2 separate regions of the Homo sapiens genome follow, and region 2 is linked to region 1. The links are contacts of gene promoters, found by promoter capture Hi-C in human tissues and cell types (Jung and others, 2019). All regions are on one chromosome and are shown on one strand. The core of a region is centred on a gene start or on the middle of the fragment in contact, and the rest is flanking DNA. Distances in the headings are between cores, read along the strand shown.

Region 1 (6,358 bases), core at 3,009-5,508:
GGGTCAGGTGGGATGACAGAGCTCAGTGAGGGCACTCGATTAGCCCAGCCCTGAAGGAAGGACGAGCAGCTCACCCCATCTCAGTGCAGCCTGCGGCCCCCGCAAGGTGTCCTCCCTGGTTACTGCACCATCTCACAGCCCTCTAGCCTCTGGGACTCAAAGGCAGGCTCCCTTGCTGTTTCAAGATAACTTGACAACCCAGGAAAACCCTCATGTCCCCCACTCCCACCTTTCCAATTTTGGTTCCTGCCTTGCTTGCATAAGGACGCTGTTCCCCCCCAACAAGCCCTGCCCATCCATGCTGTGCCTTCACCTGGGGGATATTCCAGGAAGCCTTCCCTGACCACCCTCATGACGATGACTTCCTAAGGGTGACGGTGACAAGTGCCAGCAGGCCATCTGCACAGTGAAAGACACCAGTGCTTCTCCCCATCTGCCCGCTGAGCACCCCCACTCTGTTTCTGGCCCCAACACCAGTTTCCCAAAGATACTGTCCCCATTCCAGTCACCATTCTAGATGCACCATTCTAAAGGCGTGGGCATTTAGCAGCAGGTACACTGAGGCTCTCATTCTGGGGCTGCAACTTGCGCTAAGGCTTTGTGCCTCAGTTTCCTCATCTGCAAAATGAGAATAAGCACCTGCGCTCCAGATGGCCTTGTGCCAACTGCTTGGGATGGCAGATCTGGCCAGCTACCAGTGTTGCTTTCTTCCCTGCACCTTCCTGGGCTTTTCTGTCCTCACCCAGAGCGGGCGGTCCGGCTTGGAGGAGGGACTAACTGGCCGTGAAGGGGAGTCCACCCACCCGACTGCCCCTTCCCCTCATCCCTGGAAGTTCCATCTGAGACAGGGGGATGGAGCTTCCCTGGGTCTAAGGGGCACTAGGCTCGCCACCCCCTCTTCCTTCGGGGCGCACCGGCAGAGGGCGGTCCGATGAGCACAGCCGCGGCCTCCACGAGCAACACCAGGCCCAGCGCACTGGGGAAGCGGGGCGCGCCCACAGCCGCCATGAGCACCTCGAACTGCAGCGCGCCCACCATGCCGTAGGAGAGGCCGAAGGCGACGCAGAAGGCGACGAGGGCGCCGTAGGAGCGCGCGCGTGCGCTGCTCAGGTCTGTGAGCCCATTGGCCAGCAGGGCCAGGCTGAACAGATACGGGACGTGCGGCCGCAGACGCGCCAGGCCCGCCAGGGCGCCGCACGCCGGGCGCGCCACGATGTCCACGAAGCCCACGATGGACAGCAGGAAGGCGGCGTCGGTGTCGGGCACGCCCGCGTCCTTGGCGTAGTTCACCAGCAGGATGGCGGGGACGAAGAGCCCGAGCGCCATCAGGAACTTGGTGACGGCGTACACGGCGAAGGCGCGGTCGGTGCACACTGCCAAGTCCAGCAGGCGCCGGCGGGGCCGGACCCTGGGGGATGCCTCGCGCAGCTGCAGCCCCGCACCGTCAGCCTCCGCCTCGCCCGGAGCGTCCCCGGCGCGGTCGCCGGCGCTGTCCCTGCGCGGTCGCGGGCCCGGCCCGGGCGGCGGCCTCATGACAGCCCCGCAGGCGCAGCAGTGCAGCAGGAGCCCGCCGAGCAGCAGGAAGCCGCCGCGCCAGCCGAAGCGCTCCAGCAGCTGCTGGCCGAGCGGCGACAGCGCGGACAGGAACACGGGGCTGCCCGCCGCCGCCAGCCCGTTGGCCAGAGGCCGCCGCCGCTCGAAGTACAGCCCCAGCATGATGAGCGACGGCTGGAAGTTGAGGGCCAGGCCCAGGCCTGCGGGCGAGGCGGTGCTGTGCCGGGGTCCCCGGAGAGCCCCTCCCTGGCCCCCACAGGAGGGAGGGGCCAGGCCCGGGAACCCAGCAGATCCGGGAACCCAGCCGAGGGACTTCGAAGACTGTCCCTCATAGGGAAACCGAGGACAGATCTTGCAGCAAGAACCCCCGACCCCCAACCCAGCGGAGAGGAGACCAGGGGGCCCTCACCTGTGAGCACCCCAGCGGTCAGGTAGAGCTCCAGGAGGCGCGTGGCAAAGGAAGCTAGGATCATGCCCGCGGAAGCCAGCAGCCCACCCGCCAGCATCACCGGGCGACAGCCAAAGCGGGTCACGAGGATGCTGGACACGGGGCCTGTGGGCAGGGCAGGGTCACCACCCGGGTCCCGGGATGGCTTGAGTCCTCTAAGGAATAAGGTCACCTCCGGCTCAGGGACACAGAGAGGAGGGCAGTGTCTGGCCAAGGTCACACAGCTTGGAGGGGACAGGCCAAAGAGACAGCATCCTGCGAGGGCAAGGCCCAGAGCACCCCATCCTGCGAACCCAAACCCCAAGCGGAGCGGGGGCTTCCGCACCCCTTTAACCTTCACAGCCTCCAAGTCCCGCCCTGGCACAGACTGGGATTCCTCCGCAGCCCCGCCTCCCAGGATGGGAACTCCAGCAAGCCCCCACCTACAGGTCAGGGCTGCGGGGAGGGGGAGTGCTTCTGTGGCTCTCAGCTTTCCTGCCTCTACAATGGGCGGGTGTGGTCTTAGAAGGGGCCCTCTGAGCTCGCAGGGCAGCCCCCTGGGCCGGCCCCGCCTCTGGCCGCTGTCTCCCTCCCGCCCTCTCTTCCCCTCTTTCTGGTGCCAGGGTTCCCACAGGCAGGAAGGGACTTCGGGGGCCACCCCGAGGGTCAGGGGGATGCTCAGGGGCTCGGGTGTCTCCTGGTTCCGGATCCCAGGGGTCCCGGGGAGGCGGAGGGCCGGGCGGGGACACTGACCCGTGCCGTAGAGCATGGCTAGCATGATGGAGGACACCCAGGCCGTGTCGCTGTAGCCGGCGTCGAAGTCGCGCATGAGCGCGCGGAAGAAGACGCTCACGGCTTTGGGGAAGCCGTAGGCGAAGCCGGTGACCACAAAGCAGGCGCCCAGCACCACCCAGCCCCAGCCGCCGTCTGGGGGGCCCTCGCCCCGCCGGGGGCCGCCAGCGCCCATCGCTGCCTCTGTTGGGAGGGGGCGGGGACAAGAGGGAGGGGCTGGGCCAGCAGCCTAGAGAAGGAGGGGGATGGAGACGAAGCATGGGGAAACTGAGGCACAGGGCTACCCACGTGAGGGTGGCTCAGGTCTGGGAACCAAAAGGGGAAACGGAGGTAGGACTCTCACCCCAAGTCTCCTTCTCCTGCAAAGGGCGCTGAAGGACGAGGGGAGGACGACGGGTCCCACCTGACTCTGCACCTCTGCAGGCTCCCTCTGAAGGACAACTGCTGGCCCCTCAGGGCCTCAGGTGGAAGGCGTCGGGAAGTGGAGCAGGTATGTGCCTGGAGGTGGGCGTCCAGCACCAAAGTCGCCCCGTACGCGTGAGGGTCTCGGGACAACAGAACAAACAGCAGAGGGGCAGATGCCGGCTGCAAAGGGCCGCTGTGCGTGATTTTCCTCTTTAGCCTTCCGCCATGTTCCTAATGTTTCTCAGTGATCACAAATGACTATTGTCATTAGAACATTAAGGGGACAAAAGCCACTTTCAACAGATATCAGCCAGGGGAGCTGAGTTCCCATGCATCTCAGCTCAGCCATGGATTCCCTCCCTGACTTGGGCCGGTCGCCTCCCCTCTCCCAACCTCCCTTTCCTCCGATGTAAGATGGGTGATTGATCACCCCGAGGCCAGCTGGGAATCTTGCGGGAGAGGAGTCAGGTCTCTGGCTTCTGCCAGACAGGTAGGAACCTTAGCAGCACTGAGAGAGTGGCCTTCTGCCCTCCAAACCTCAAACCCTCTATATGAAAAGAATGGCTCCAAAGCCTGTCTCATTCCTGGGGCTCCACCCGGGGCCCTCACAGCAGTTACAAGCGCCCCCATAACAGATGAGGAGGGTGTACTCAGAGACAGGTGCACCAGGAGCCGGGGGCTGGGGATAGCCTCCTGCCCTCCTGCCTGGAGTGTCCCTCCTGGCACTGGGCAGTGCCACCACCCCCAGGGTATCCGGGACTCTGCCCCTCCTCCACTAGGACCAGGTTGTGGCTTTTCCTGCCTGTTGTCCTCTTGTCACAGGGGCAGCCACTTGAAGGTGGAGACAGGAGGGTGATCCCAGGCAGCCCTCACATCACACTCACCTGAGCCTGCCTCGTGGGTTTGGGGGTCCAGCCTCACATCTCCTGAGGCCTGCAGGGAGGGGCCGCCGCCGCAGCTCCCGGTGAAGCTTACCCGGATGGGGGCTGCCAGACACCCCAGCTTCCCACCAGCCTGGGCTGAGCCTCTGGCCGACTCCCGCCTGACGCTCCCTGCCCCAGGCCTGGAGCTTAGAGTGTGTGCCCCCACCACACCTCACCCCTGCTAAGAGGCTTTTGTCCAGGAGGGGAGAAGAGACTGGGAGCCCCAGGCCAGGCTGGGCCTCGGCGGTGGGCTCCCTGTCCCAAGCCAGTCCAGGAGGGAGGAAGAGAATCCCTGTGCCTCCTGGAGCCTGGGGTGGTAGACACAGAGACCTTGCCCAGGGGGTCCTAGTCTGGTGCTGGGGGCACAGCCCTGCCCTGAAGAGACCCCAACGGTTCTAATCACCTCAGTGCCTCATCTGCCCCCGCCCCAACCCCCCGCCCCAGGCCACATTCCAGGAGGGGCTGGCAGCTTTCTCTAGAATGAAGCTAATCCACGCCTGTGCCTGGGAATGTGGGGGGGGGAGGGGCCAAAACAAAGGGTGCTGTGTCCAGGCCGCCTGAGGGCAGCTTGCTGGTGGTCCCAGCCCTTGGCCACTGCCACCTCTCCCCTGACCCGAGCAGCCGCTACTTCCTAGGAAACCCACAGGTCGAAATGAGAGCAGGTGGAGATGGGGGCTGCAGCGCGAGGGCTTTGGGGCAGCCCTAAAGAGTTCTCCAAACAAACAAACAAGGGGCTGGGAGTGAGATGGCTTCCCGGGGAACAGCCAGGACCTCAGTACCCCCTAGACCCCATTCTCCAATGGGGGAGTCTCTATCCCTCACCCCCTGCCCTGTCCCCCAAATAAGACACCACCAGTCCTGCTGCCGCATCACTTTGCGTCCACTTCCTTTATTTCTCATCATTTACAAAAGATGTACAGAGAGGGCATGTGTTGGGCACGGAGCAGGTACAAGGGGCTCCTCCCCACGGGGGCAGAAAAGGGGGAAAGAGGTTAGGGGGCAAGAGGTGGGCCCCCCAGGGAGAGTCCTGGAGCCCCTGGAGGGGGAGAAATTGTCCTGTCCCCCCATTCCGCCTGCTTTACTTTGAAGGTCTCGGACCCCAAGCCAGTGCTTTGGAGCTGCTCAGGCTGCCGGGGTGGTCTGGGGAGGGCAGCCACCCCCCGTCTCAGGGACCCGCTTCTTGGATCTGCTGCTGTTGCTGCTGTCGCTGCCATTGCCAGCTCTGAACAGCCCCTGGGCAGGTGCACTGTGGGGTACGACCTCGGACCCCGCCTCAGCGGATGAGGGGTGCTGAGCGGTCATTGGTGATGGTGGGACGAAGCTTGACAGTGGCAAAAGGATTTGTGCCCCTGTAGGAGGAGAGAGAGAATGGGGTGAGAAGGGCAGATGATCCCCACCTGGCCATGGCTCAGGAAGGCAGCTGGGCAACTGAGCTGGGTCCTGCCTCCTGCCCCTATTTGGTCTCCATCCACTCCTTGCCCCGCTTCATCTTTTTTTTTCTTTTAAGAGATAGGGTCTCACAGTGTTGCTCAAGCTGATGTTGAACTGTTGGAATCAAGAGATCCTCCTGCCCCAGTCTCCCTAGTAGCTGGGACTACAAGTGTGTGCCGCCGCACCTGCCACCCTCCTCACTGTTTGGGCCCCCATGTGAGGACTCACCTCGGGAAGAGCTCCTGTGGTGGGTACTGCTCTGAGGACATCAGTTTCTGCAGTGGGGGTGGGGAAGGGCTGGTTTGGTGGGGAGAGGGGCAAGCAATCCCTTGCTCCTCCCCTCCCTCTCCCCATGCCCAAGGGCAGAGGACTGGGCCAGAGAGCCCCTGCCATGCCAGGCTCCTGGAAAATGAGACCCTGACGTTCTGAAGCCCAGAATTCTGTGGGTTGCAGAAGTGAGAAACCCCTAGGCCAGAGCACCACCTCCAAGGACTAACCACGCCCCCAGGATAAGACCGGGGTGGCTCCATCGGAGATGCCCTCCCTGGCCTCCCCCAGCCCCGTCCTACTGGCTAGCCCCAGGCCACACCCTGTCCTGGGACCCTGGTCTTCCCCTTCAGCCCAGACTCAGCCCCACACCACCCCTCCCTGCACTGAGGAACAGACTGAGTGAGGCCAGGTAGGCGGGTCCCCTGCCAGACAGCCGGTGACAGAGCCTCGGGATCCCTGCTCTCCTGCCTCCCTGCCCGCTGGAGGCCCCAAGAGAGGGCGGGCAAGGGCTCACCTTGACGTCAGTGGCAACTGCTGTGCTGCCCATGCTGCTGCG
Region 2 (6,358 bases), core at 2,861-5,360, 220 kb after region 1:
AGCAAGAAGAGGAAAACTTCCAATTCCTCCTCAAAAACACTGGGGAGAGGGCCCTTGGGAGATGAGGCAGGAATGTAGGCCGGGAAGCAACAGGTGTAACAGCCAGGACAGGGAAACCGGGCCTTCTGGCTGTGCCAAGGAGTGGCAAAGAGCCAGGGATTACTGCTCAGGTGCCAAGGGCTGTGGGGCAGCCCAGTGTGGGCTTTGTTGTTGTTGTTTTTGAGATGATGTCTCGCTCTGTCACCCAGACTGGAGTGCAATGGTGCAATCTCGGCTCACTGCAACCTCCGCTTCCCAGGTTCAAGCAATTCTCCTGCCTCAGCCTCCTGAGTAGCTGGGATTACAGGTGGGGCTAATTTTTGTATTTTTAGTAGAGACAGGGTTTCACCATGTTACTCAGGCTGGTCTCGACCTCCTGACCTCATGATCCACCTGCCTTGGCCTCCCAAAGTGCCAGGACTGCAGGCGTGAACCACCGCGCCTAGCCCCAGCGTGGGCTTTGTATGGCCTCACCTTTCCCTTAGACAGTGCCTCAGGGGCCCCCAGGCATGTCCCCTCCCACTGGGCTACTCACAGGGATAGCCTTTGCAGAGGACCTCGATGGGCGTTGACATCTTCTTCTCGCTGATCCGTTCATACTTCTGGCGCTTGGTGGCTGCTTTGAGCCCCTGCCAGGGCAGGGAGCCCAGGTTGAAGTACATGAGCACGTAGCCCAGGCTCTCCAGGTCATCTCGACGGCTTTGCTCTGCACAGAGAGTCAAAGACTAGGTGAGGGACAGGGGTCCACTCAGGCCCCTAACTCATCCTCTGGGTCATGCTCCTCACAATGCACCAGGACCCTCCTGCCCCCACGTCGGATGTTGCTCACTGCACGCATTTTAAACAGGCACTGCTATTATCCTCCTCCTACAGAGAAGAAGCCTGAGGCAGGGCCTTCTCAACTTAATTTGGGCCTAGTTTTTCCAGTTCAGGCACTTAATCATTCAATGACTATGAGAGGGCACCTACTGCCCCCTTGCCTGGCCCACCCCGTGGAGAGGTCACAAGCTTCAGCATCAGACAGGGCCGGGGTCAAGTCCAGCTTTGGCATTAGCTAAGCTGCATGACCTTAAGCAACCCATGTTAAACCTCTGAGCCTGTATCTTCCAGCCTGCACCAACAGGGCGGAGGAGGAAGCAGGGCCAGGGAAGGCGCCCGGCACACACAGCTTGGCTTACGAAGGGGAAGACCCGACTGTGCAAGGACACGGAATAAGCACGAGCTTGGGGGCAGACGGGGTGGGGACTTTCTCACTAGAAAAGAGCCTGGGGGCCTCCATCAGGGTAGGGGGTGAGAGGGCTCCAGAGAGCTGGGCCCCAGCCAGTGGCCCCGGGTGCACACTGCTCCAGGCCTGGCTCCCTCACCAATGCCCAGGTGCGTGTTGATGGAAGCGTAGCGGGCCGTGCCGGTCAGGTTCTTGTTTTCCCGGTAGGGAATGTGCTGGTGGGTGCGGGCGTCCCGGTACTTCTTGGCCAGGCCGAAGTCGATGATGTAGACCAGGTTGCCCTTCTTCCCCAGCCCCATGAGGAAGTTGTCGGGCTTGACGTCCCGGTGGATGAAGTTCTTGGAGTGGATATACTCGATGCGGCTGATCTGGGGAGGAGGGGGGCCATTTGTTCAACAGAGGGGCCCTTGCCTAGCACTCTGGGCCAGGCAGGGGCTGGGGCCACAGAGGTGGAAAGGCAGAGGGAGAAAGGCCTGCCTTCGACCATGAAGGATAACTAAGGGGCAGGCCAGAGAAGGCCTCCTGGAAAATGTGACATCAGGATGAACTCTAAAGGGGGAGTTCACCAAGTTGGCTGTGAGACAGAGAAAGAGAGTATTGCAGGAAAGCTAATGGGAAGATCCAGAAATGAAGAGTCTGCTAGAAAGGCAACTGGTTCCCCATGGAAGGCTTGCCTGCCCGGCCCCACACTCACAGGACTTAGGGAGCCAGAGAGGCAACAGATGTGGGCGAGGGGCAGGCAGGGAACATGGGGGAAGCCTAGACCAGGAAGAGGTGACAGAGGCAGAACACAAAAGACAGGGCTTCCGAAGGATGCCAAACTCAGACAGGCACATGGCCCTCTTTCCTTTGATATTTTTTTTTTTGAGATGGAGTCTCGGTCTGTTGCCCAGGCTGGAGTGCAGTGGCAAAATCTCGGCTCACTGCAACTTCTGCCTTCAGGGTTCAAGTGATTTTCCTGCCTCAGCCTCCCGAATAGCTGGGACTATAGGCACGCGCCACCACACCTGGCTAATTTTTTGTATTTTTAGCAGAGATGGCGTTTCACCATGATGGTCAGACTGGTCTCAAACTCCCGATCTCAGGAGATCCGCCTGCCTCGGCCTCCCAAAGTGCTGGGATTACAGACTTGAGCCACCTTTTCAGTCGAGTTTTTAAAACTCAAACTAATATCCATCCACATGCCGTGGCCTCTGGCTCTGGCCCCAGGTTCAGCACAGCTCAACATCTCCTGCACCTTTCTTGAGTTTCACACCATGAGGGGCTCTGGCGACCCTCTGCTCACACACCTTCAGCCTACATCGCAGGGCTTTTGCAGACCAAGATTAAAACCCCTGTACGAGATCTCCACATTCCATTCCAAGTTCAAAATTCTACAGTTTTGTATTTTTAAGAAGCTTTCCTCCCTATGCTGATGAAGGGCTTAGTACTTAACAACAGCCTGTTAGAGGGGCCTGTTTTGGCAAGGCGCTGAATGGTATCTCACCTAATCCCCTCAACAACCAACAAAGGAGAGACTCTCACATGAGGCCACTGAGGCTCAGAGAGGTTCGGCGTTCACCTACGGTCACTGGTCTGGAACAGGACCAGGTCTGTGTGACCGACCGCAGGCTTTACATTACCCAGGGCAGGCCAGACGTGGTGGATCATGCCTGTGATCCCGTGTTAATTCCCATCTTGGGAGGCCAAGATGGGAAGACTGCTCAAGGCCAGGAGTTTGAGACCAGCCTGGTCAACACAGTGAGACCCCCATCTCTATTTCTTACAATTAAATGATATTTTTGAAATAAATAAATAAAACTACCCCAGGCAGAGTCCCAGGCCCTGACTCGGCAGGTCTGGAGTTGGGCCTGAAATCACATTTTAAATAAACAACTTGGCTGGGCACGGTGGCTCACGCCTGTAATCCCAGCACTTTGAGAGGCTAAGATGGGCGGATCACTTGGTAAAACTCTGTCTCTACTAAAAATACAAAAATTAGCCCAGCGTGGTGGCAGGTGCCTGTAATCCCAGCTACTCATGAGGCTGAGGCAGGAGAATCGCGTGAACCTGGGAGGCGGATGTTGCAACGAGCTGAGATCGCACCACTGCGCTCCAGCCTGGGCGACAGAGTGAGACTCCGCCTCAAAAAATAAATAAACACCTACAATTCTATAGCCAGTGGACAAGGTCCCCTGGCCCAGGCCCATCCTCTGGCATCCTCTGGGGGCAGGAGGCAGGGCTGGTATCCTGGGCCCACAGGCATCTGGCTGGGGATGGAGGGGACGGGGACTCACCATCTGGTCGGCCAAGAGCAGCACCGTCTTGAGGCTGAATTTGCGGGAACAGAAGTTGAACAGGTCCTCGAGGCTAGGCCCCAGCAGCTCCATGACCATCACGTTGTAGTCGCCCTCAGCTCCGCACCACTTGATGGACGGGATCCCCACTGGGGGTCAAGCAGAGGGCCTCTGTCAGGGGTCAGAGGCAGGCAGCCAGCCACGCCCGGCCCACCCTGTGCTCATGGCTGCCCACCGCCACCCACCCGGCGCCCGCCGCCGCCCACCCTGCGCTCACCGCCACCCTGCATCATCTTGTAGAACTTGCTCTCGATGTGCAGCTGGGGGTGCTTTGTCTTCACACACTCCAGCTTGATGGCGACTTCCTCACCAGAGGCGATGTTGGCACCTGCCCGGGGCAGGGAGGCAAGGGACCAGGGTCACCCTCAAAGGCCAGGCAGTCCCAGGCGCCCCACTAAGCATTTCTGAGATCTGGCGTGTGCCGGGCCCGGGGCCATCTGCCCTTGAGGAGCTCTTGGGGGAGGCTGGGAAGGGGGCAAAGGAGCCCCGGCAAAGGGTTCCTGAGGGGAAAGAAGGTCAGCGCTGTGAGGGACAGAGGTGACACACAAGGGCTACCCAGGGCCACAGGTTGGGGCGACAAGAAGGCCCGATGTGAGTGGGGCAAGGGTCAGGTATGCAAAAGGCTCACAGACCACCTAAGGGAGGGGGCTGAGTCCTAGAGCAAATTCAGGCAGTGAGGTCTGTCGGGTTGAGATGGTGGCACGTGCAGAAGAGGCCCAATGGGGCTGGGCTGCCGAACACACCAGAACAAGCCAGGACCACCCTGGCCTACAGGATGAGGATGGGACAGCCGCAGCAACCCCTCAGTCAATGCTGATGCCTTCAGAGGCAGCCCTGCACATTCTAATCCAGTGTCTCATTCGATTCTCAACCCCCTTGTAGAGATGAGAAAACAGAGACCCAGCTAGAGACCCAGCTCAAGGTCACCTGACCTGTAAATGGCGGCCTTGAGATCAACCCCGGCTCTGCTGGCCTCCAGCATAGGTCAGAGGTCCTGCCTGCACCTCCCCGTCTCCCCCAGTCCACTCCTGGCTTCTCAAGGGGCTCTAAGAAAATACCCTCACACACACCAAGGCCCCGCTCTCTGCCTGGGCCCACTGCCCAACTCAAGAAGTCACAAGAAAGACCAAGCCCAAAGTGTACCTTGCCTCAGTTTCCCTGGCTGTATGGGTGGATGAGATGAAGGGCTGGGGCTAGGCTGGGCGACAGGGTGTCTCCTTCCTGGGGCCAGCAGCGAGCCCAGCAGGAGGAGTAGGACAGTGTCGCAACAGGACACAAACAGGCCAGAACAACCCCCAGGGACACAGCCTCAGGAGGAGTTCAAGACAGGAGAAAGGCAGGACCTCACATCAGAGGAAAAGATGAGACTGTTCATTAATAATGTCCCTGAACAACCGGCTGGCCACCTGAGAAAAGACACCATGGCTCACACCACAACCAGGAGAAATCTCAAGTAGAGGAAAAGTTTGTATATAAGAAATAAAGGTGTGGGTGTGAGTTGGCACAGCCCCTGTGCACCTCTTGGGTGAAGCTGAACATAAACAAACGCTCGCCCAAGCAACCCCACTCCTGAGTGTACATCCTTCAGAAACACGTGTGCACCAGGGGGACAGGACAAGGATGGACACAGGAGCAAACAGCCCAAGTGCTCAGCAGCAGAAGAACAGGAACAGTGGCGCAGTCACCAGGGAATCCCAGGCGGCAGTGAAGAGGAAAGGATGCCTGCTTCACACAATGACCCTGGTCCCAGGGGTGCACTCCTCACAGCAGCCAGAGGGTGGAAACAACAAACATCTGTCACAGATGCAAGGATGAATGGAATGCAGTGCCTCCATGCGGCGGAATATTATTCAGCAATAAAGAGGAATAAAGTACCGATACACGCTACGACACGAGTGCACCTTGAAAACATTCTACCCGAGGCCAGGCACAGTGGCTCACGCCCGTAATCCCAATACTTTGGGAGGCTGAGGCGGGTGGATCACAAGGTCAGGAGTCCGAGACCAGCCCAGCCAAGGTGGTGAAACCCTGTCTGTACCAAAAATACAAAAATTAGCCGGGCGCAGTGGCAGGCATCTGTAATCCCAGCTACTTGGGAGGCTGAGGCAGGAGAATCACTTGAACCCAGGAGGCGGAGGTTGCAGTGAGCCGAGATTGTGCCATTGCACGCTAGCCTGGGTGACGGAGTGAAACTCCAGCTCAAAAAAAAAAAAAAAAAAAAAAAAAAGAAGAGTGCAAGCACAGTTCTACTTGTTTCCATATCAAAACAGGCAACAAGACTGGACAATACAGATTTAAACACGAAAGAAAGGAAAAAGATTAAATGTCAGACGGTGGTTCCCAGGGAGGGACACCTTAGGCCATGCAGGTATTCTATACGTATTCTTTGCATCCACTCAACGTTTAATAAGAAATAACAATGAAATGTTAGAAGAAGGGAGAATTGCCTTATAGCCTTGGGGTTAGGCAAAGCTTTTATTTTTATCCCTGATTCAAAATCCTAAAGCCATTTAAAAAAAAAAAAAAAAAGCTCCTTCCTCTCCAAAAAAAAAAGAATCCCTTCTGCATGGCAAAAACACCGGAAATAAAGTCCTAAGAGACATACTCACTTGCAATTCTTATCACAGGCAAAGAGCTAATATGTAATGAGCTCCTACAAATCAGTCAGAAAAAGACTCAGCAGAAAATAGGCCAAAGGATTTGAAACACACACTTCACAGAGAAAGAAATCATTAATAGAAAAGCCTTACTCATAGGG

What was found. The method cuts DNA at HindIII sites, captures the fragments that hold promoters and counts their contacts. A contact is called where the count stands out against the background at its distance.
Region 2: a fragment that was not itself captured here is called in contact with the fragment with the promoter of SLC16A8 in region 1 in 4 of the 25 tissues and cell types used here (IMR-90 fibroblasts, aorta, dorsolateral prefrontal cortex and 1 more).

The regions. Positions count from the first base shown.
Region 1 is chr22:38,079,926-38,086,283 of GRCh38, forward strand. SLC16A8 (solute carrier family 16 member 8) reads right to left here and starts at 4,259. Exons shown (of 6, transcript NM_013356.3): 1 at 4,063-4,259; 2 at 3,117-3,436; 3 at 2,735-2,956; 4 at 1,964-2,107; 5 at 915-1,754. The coding sequence starts at 2,948. BAIAP2L2 (BAR/IMD domain containing adaptor protein 2 like 2) reads right to left here. Exons shown (of 14, transcript NM_025045.6): 12 at 6,317-6,358; 13 at 5,761-5,807; 14 at 4,975-5,450. The coding sequence ends at 5,375. It overlaps LOC105373027 (a long non-coding RNA gene), which reads left to right. Exons shown (of 3, transcript XR_938249.3): 3 at 1-442. RefSeq lists enhancers at 621-1,402, 3,743-4,524, 6,085-6,358 and a silencer at 2,718-2,767. The HindIII fragment of the contact is 9,296 bases long and covers 85-6,358 here.
Region 2 is chr22:38,299,321-38,305,678 of GRCh38, forward strand. It overlaps TPTEP2-CSNK1E (TPTEP2-CSNK1E readthrough), which reads right to left. Exons shown (of 15, transcript NM_001289912.2): 7 at 3,818-3,928; 8 at 3,541-3,689; 9 at 1,404-1,632; 10 at 575-745. It overlaps CSNK1E (casein kinase 1 epsilon), which reads right to left. Exons shown (of 11, transcript NM_152221.3): 3 at 3,818-3,928; 4 at 3,541-3,689; 5 at 1,404-1,632; 6 at 575-745. Among named protein-coding and RNA genes, the nearest start is that of CSNK1E, 15 kb to the right of the region's middle. RefSeq lists enhancers at 1-199, 82-755. The HindIII fragment of the contact is 4,513 bases long and covers 1,855-6,358 here.